2 separate regions of the Homo sapiens genome follow, and region 1 is linked to region 2. The links are contacts of gene promoters, found by promoter capture Hi-C in human tissues and cell types (Jung and others, 2019). All regions are on one chromosome and are shown on one strand. Each heading gives the region's core, a stretch centred on a gene start or on the middle of the fragment in contact. The rest is flanking DNA. Distances are from core to core; before and after follow the strand shown.

Region 1 (3,544 bases), core at 278-2,777, 230 kb before region 2:
TCTGAATAGTGCACCAAGAAATATATCTTTCACTCGTTCCACTTTTCCCCCTTGACCTCTGCCTTGGTCTCCTCCAGGCCCTCAGCAGGCCTCTGCATGAATTCGATTTGGTCTCCTGGCTTTCAGAATCTCCTCATTCCAATGATCACATCCTCTACTGACAAGTATTCATCTCTCTACTCAAAAACACATCAGTGGCCACCAAATACAGTTCCGCTTTGCCTGACATGCAAGGCCATTTACAATTTGGTTCCAATCTGTCTTCTCAGCCTTCTCTTACCTTCATCTAACCCAAGGTCCCATCTGACCTGAATGCTAGTTATGATCACCCTTCCCCATCTGGCCTGTAGTCATGCTGATCTCTCCGCTCTAGGGAAACTAGCCACCAACTTCTACATATCTCAATGCTAACTTCAAGTTGGAAGTCGTTTTTTTCTGTGTTCTCCATTCCCAAAGCATTGTGGTTGGAGGGCTCCCAAGCTTTTTTTTCACATTTTGTGTTACGTTTATTTCAATAAAGATATTATCTTCTCCCCCTCCCTTCCTCAGACTTCAAACCCTTTGAGATTAGAGGATGAGTCACATTCCCTTATAAATTCAAGCACAGGGCCTCTCACATAACAGGAACTTAGTGTGTTTGAATAAGTGAATGAATGAATGAATGACAAAATAAGAGAACCAAAATTATCTCTTCTATATCACACTATTTTCCCACTTCATTCCTACCCCAATAATATGACAGGAACATGAGCCATTTAAGCAGTTTAATTATCTAATCCAAAATGTGGGCTCTGAAGATCAGAGTGAGTCTACATAGAACAGCTGAGGTGTCAAAACACATTAAAAATAATAATGCAAAAATAACCAGGTGTAATCTAAGCTGAGTATTTTCTCTGGCACCTCTTCACTAACATTTAATTTAGAATTGTGTTCTATAATTATCGTATGTGTTTAAGGGTCCTATTTTCTGCTGATTCTTAACTAGATACAATACATACAGCTTTCAGAGATTGAAAATATTAGTATAAAGAGAACTAATGCTTTTATTTTAATTGATTAAATGTAATCAAAGTACATATTATTTGACACTAGTTTCTGTCAAGTATTCAGTACTTGAAAATGTTGAATCATCGGTTTGAGACCCATAATTCTGACTGTACCACAGACAGTGGAGAATGTGGAGTGTAGTTTTTCCACTGGGTGACAGGAGGGAGACCGATCCTCCAGGACTTCTATCAGCAACACCTTGTTTTGGGTACTGTGGGTGATATGAAGAAGTTCTAACAAATAGAATGTGTGGAAGTGGTGCTCAGAGACCTTCAAGTGTAATAGAAAGGGGAGCTTCCTCCAGATGCTGCCTTGGGTCACTCACTCTGTAGGAAGCCAGCGAACACAACACCAGTACATTCAAAACCCCAAGGAGAGGCCCACAAGGAGACAAAGGCCTCTCACCAATAAGCCAGGTGTGTGAGTGAGCTGCCTTTTCTCTCTTCTTCTACTTAGCTTTTTAAATGTACACACTGCTCTCTTGTTGGTGCATAGCTATTCAGATTTTGACAAAACCATAAAACCAGGTTGCCACCACCATGATCCAAGTATAATTTCCATTATGCTTCCAATACCCCATTATCATCCATCTGTCCTGCCCTCTGCAATGCCTGGCAACCACTAACCTATTACCCAGAATGCAATGAGCTGGCTTTAGGAGTAGACCCTCCAGCCTCGTTCAAGCTTTCAGATGACAGCAGCCCTGGTTGATGTCTCTGTTACAATATTATGAAGAACCTCAAGGCAGAATCACTGAGCCAAGCCACTCCCAAATCCCCTCATGGAAACTGTGAGAGATGAGAAGTGTCATTTGTCGTTGTAAGCCACTAAGTTTGGAGGTAATGATTGCACAGCAATAGTTGCATTGGTTACCTTATAAATCTTTTTTAAAATAATTATTGCTATTGATATTTACCTAGAATGTCTTTCCTTTGATTGGTCTTGGAGCAGACCCACAGCCTGAGTGCCCATGCACAGGTAACTTGGGTACCTGAAGGTAGAAAAGTGTCACCACATTGACATGACTAAGATGTCCACTGCCTGAGATGTGGACAAAGGCCATGCCAAGGTTAAGTGGAAGAAAATATGAAGCAGTTAATCCTCTGTCACTTGAAAGCTCACAGCAGAAATAATTCAAAACGTAAAGCCCTAGCCAGGCGTGGTGGTGGGCACCTGTAATTCCAACTACTCAGGAGTCTGAGGCAGGAGAATCACTTGAACCTGAGAGGTGGAGGTTGCAGTGAGCTGAGATTGCGCCACTGCACTCCAGGCTGGGTGACAGAGCAAGACTGTCTCAAAAAAACAAACAACAACAAAAAAACACACACACAAAAAAAACAAAAAATGTAAAGCCTCTCAACCACCAGGTTCTGCTTATCTTGTGGCAAATCTGTTTCTCTGTCGCACATACTACTTTCATGATTTGAAGTCCTAGATAAGCTGCCTGCATCCTCTTGCAATCCATCCCCATTTCCACACAGAGAGGCAGCAGCTGCATTACAGGGGGAGCTATTGTACATTCTAGGGGCCTCTCCAGCAGTATGTCTTCTCTTTCTAGAACTTTGCCTCTCTCACCCAGGCCCCCATGAATAGTGACTACAGTTCTTTGCATGGCTATGTTCACTCCAGCTGAGATGAAGTCATGAATGTGGGGGAAAGTCCTTTGTTAAAGGTACATAATGCGTGTTGCAAATAATCCATTCCCAGAAAACTCAGAGTTGGCTGTGCTTATTCTATACTTCAGTTCAAAGCAAGTTTTCTACACAAAAAATATTCAAGTCTCCCAAACTCAACTGTTTAAACAAAAGAGTTAATTACTCAGGATTCTGGGTGGTCAATGATGAATCACCAGAAATTGTGACACCCTCAGTGAGGAGCCATGGGTCTACCCTGAACTTAGAAGGGGACAGTCACTTCACGTCTCTGGGCCTCAGAATCATTCTCTGTAAAAAGAAGGGATATAATTCAATGATATTGACTGTCTTTTCCAGCACAGCTCAGCTTACGGTTCTTGGAAACATTATTAAATTTTTTAATGAATTCTTTTGTTCTGTGTCTTCAGATGAGAATTACAATAGAATAGTCTCGTTTCCTCTGCAACAATAAAATAACTGTGCATTTTTCCATCCTAAAGTATTTAAAAGAATAAATGATAAAGGTCTGCAAAATGAATATTCTATCTTAACCTAGCCATAATTTTATAATTTACATTGCCACTGTTTCTAAGTAAGAAACTGCCTTCTATCTGTGTTTTATACTGGCAAGAAGAATTTAATCTATAAAGAAAACCTCTAAAGTACTTTCAGACCATCGAAATTTATAATTCCATAACTCAATAACTTCCTTTGTTTTCTACATTACATTACATATTCAGGAAGATAAGACTTTTTTCTTATTAATTTAAAACTTGGAAGTAGAGACAGGTATCATCTTTTTCTGGAACAAATAACACTAGAGTTGAGTCAGCAATCAAGTTATGCATATTCATAACCATCTA
Region 2 (3,326 bases), core at 713-3,212:
GGGCTCCCTGGGGGTCACGTGCCCTGGAGAGGCCACAGAGGACGACGTCCATGACTAACCATGCCCACCGGCTGGGAAAAGTTCAGCTTCCGCTCCAGGCCCCCCAAACACAAAAAGATTATAATTGGCAGGGCTGCAAAATTGTTTTGTTTACTGTCAGATAGGAAGTACAGAAGAGAACGCTGATGGTATTTTGACACCCCCCCCAAAAAAAAAGTGGGCAGGCATTTTTTTAACCATTGTGAATAGAGTTTCAATAATCACAGTTCCCACCCAAAATAGCTGCCTACAGGAGGTGGAGGAGAATCTGTTGTGGTGGTTAAAGAAAATAAGAATTAAAAAGTGGAAGGGATTTGTGGAGCTGGAGAATCAAGACTGTCATCTGCATCTCCGTGGAAGGGTGCCCTGAGGAAGAGGTGTCACTGGAGAATCCCTCCCAGAACATGCAGTCTTGTCAGGACTGGGAATCGAACTCCCCAGCTGCGGGTTTAACGGAAATCAGAGGGATGAAAATCATCTAAACTCTTCAATGCCCCTAGGACTTGGAAGATCACCCCCAGACTATCAGCTTCAGAGTATCCCGCAGGTAGGCAGCGCAACTGGTGAAGTGCGGTGGGCACACAAGCAGAAGCTGCCTTCGCAGAAGAGGAAGAAAGTTCGAGACCAAGCACATCGCCTGCTTCCCCATGGGTCCCTGCTTCCTAGTGACTCACCTACCTAATATCTCCCTTTAGCAGAAGCCAAAGGCGGAGGAGGCAGGGGGAGAAAGGAGTTTCCCAAGGGTCTCAGAGCAAGAGAGGCCCCTGAGGTCTCGCGATTTAGAATGCTCAAGGGTGCTTCTGGGCTGAACCAGCTGCCTGCCGGGGTGAGCTGTTTTACTTCAAGAGCAGTTAGCAGAAGCAGTGTGGATGGTGACTTCAGCACCACCTCTGCCACAAATGCACCTGTGCACCAAAACAACCTGCGCACCTACACGGAGCCACCCCCTCCACCAGCCTCCACCTCCCAGAGCTGCGGGGATGCTCCGGGCCAGGCACCCCTTCTGGGGACAAGGGTGTAAGCTTCACATGGTACCAAACCGAACTCTCTATCCCGTTTTTTGGCTTTTTCTTTTTTTTTTTTTTTCAGGATACCCCAAGCCTGGAAAGTCTTCCAGAGTTTTCGGGAGCTAATTAATTATGTGATTTCCTCTCCTCTGAGAACTGTTTTGCTGGCGTGTCACCAAGTTGTCACGTAGGTGCCCACCAGGTCAAACAGAATAGACCATCCTCACCCACCCACCCCGGGGAATGTCTCCTTCCACCAAATAAAATGAACTGAGACAGGCAGGAAGGAGGCAGAAGTTTGAGGAAGGACTCCAGTTGAAGGTCACAATAGTTTGGGGAAGGCAGATCAAGGTAATACGAAGGGGACAGACCCTATAGCGGAAAACACAAACAACCAATCACGTTTCTCTCGGAACCAGCCTATCCATGATGGGTGCACCAGGAAACAGCACACCCTGGGATCCAACTTCTTTCACCCAGCACACCCGAATCTCCACCCCAGCCCTGCAGACACCCTAGCCTGAGACCAGACCTATTTAGACAGACCTGAGCGCAGCTAATTAGGAGTAGTAAACAAGCCCATTTCTTGCCAGCGCAGAAGTTTCCCAAATTGTCCGCTTGTTTTCCTCCCAACAAAAGACAGTGATTTCCCACCTTTATCACATTCCCTCCCAGAAACTTTTCTTTCTGCAATCCCTCCACCTAGGCTAAACTGCAAAGCCACTGGCAATGGAGACGCAGGCGCTGCACCCCCGGGACGCAGGCAGAGGTACCTTTTCCGCGAGGCAGAGGGGCCGCCGGTGCCCAGAGGCCAGCTGCCCTGCCGAGCAGTAGAGCGAAGCTGTGGGCTGGAGCACGCTGAGGATTACACGTTCCTGTCTCTGCGACCAGACCTTTCGGCAGCTCGGACCAACTGTGCTAGCGATGCACTTAGCAATTATCTGCTGGCTCCGACGCCCCGCCCTCTGCTCTTGCGATTGGCTCTCCAGTCCCGGGCAGGACTGCATTGGTTTCAGCCGACCTCACTCATTGCTTTGGCTCCTACTATTATCTAAGCCATCAAAGGAAATAATTCCATGTTTCATTGACAACCTGTAAGGCTCTCCTCCAGCCCAATGTGGGGGCAGGACCGGGAGGCCAGTGGAGAGAGGGGAGAGGAGTAGGAAAATGTGGGGGAGCGGGGTGGGGGAAGGAGGTGGAGGGGAGAGGAAAAGAAGGAGAAACTGTGGGGGGGTAGGAGGGTAGGAGGGAGAGAGAGAGAGAGATGGAGCTATCAAGCAATCAGATTCTTGCTCTAGCATTTTAACTTCCACAAAACAGAGCCCATAGCAACAATTTTCTGGCTTTATTTTCCCCCTAACTGGTAAATGTTGCTGAGGGCAGAGAGAATAATAACTATGGGGTGTCTGCCGGCATGAGACAGACTCTAGAAAGCCGAGCAAGGTTGAGGGCTGAAGGGATGGAGTAATGCTTTTCACAGGGCCACCCTGGAGGACATGTGAAGGACATGGCAGATTGCTTGGGGAGCATAGTAGGTGCATACCTGGAGTTTATCTATCAGTACTTTATCTCACAGTCCCCCTCATCCCCCAACCTGAGGAGACAATTTTCCTTTGCACCCTGTCCAAAGAGTCTCAGAAGAGCTATTCTTAAAATCCATAAAACTCTGGAGTTTCTCACTGTTCTCACTGGGAGGTCCAGAAAGCCGAGCATTCTAGAGTGAATGATTCTGCTGGGACCCTCACTTTGGTTTATTCTGACATGGCTTAAATTAATCGCTTAGACTTTCATCAACAACCTACGCACGTGAAGAGAGAACATACCCATCAAAGGGTGGGGACAGCTTAAACACTTTTCCTTGTTCACCAAGAAATCATAAAGTCTCACCCTAGTTAAAATGGCTTTTATCCAAAAGACAGGCAATAACAAATGCTGGCAAGGATGTGAAGAAAAGAGAATGAACCCTCCTACATTGCTGGTGAGAATGTGAATTAATGCAGCCACTATGGAGAACAGTATTGGGGTTTGTCAGAAAACTAAATATAGAGCTACCATCTGATCCAGCAATCCCACTGCTAGGTATATACCCCCAAAAAAGAAATCAGTATCTTGAAGAGATTCCTGCACTGCCATGTTTATTGCAGCTCTGTTCACAATAGACAAGATCTGGAAGCAATGTAAGTGTCCATCAACAGATAAATTAGATGAAGAAAATGTGGTACATATGCGTAGTGGAGTACTATTCAGCCATAAAAAGGAATGAGATCCTGTCATTTACAA

Evidence for each region. Contacts are between HindIII fragments. The study calls those that stand out against the background at their distance.
Region 1: a contact is called between a fragment that was not itself captured here and the fragment with the promoter of ZMAT4 in region 2, in 2 of the 25 tissues and cell types used here (dorsolateral prefrontal cortex and hippocampus).

The regions. Positions count from the first base shown.
Region 1 is chr8:40,662,861-40,666,404 of GRCh38, forward strand. The region is part of intron 5 of ZMAT4 (zinc finger matrin-type 4); the gene reads right to left. Among named protein-coding and RNA genes, the nearest start is that of ZMAT4, 230 kb to the right of the region's middle. The HindIII fragment of the contact is 5,848 bases long and covers 1-3,544 here.
Region 2 is chr8:40,895,864-40,899,189 of GRCh38, forward strand. It overlaps ZMAT4 (zinc finger matrin-type 4), which reads right to left and starts at 1,963. Exons shown (of 7, transcript NM_024645.3): 1 at 1,820-1,963. The HindIII fragment of the contact is 9,161 bases long and covers 1-3,326 here.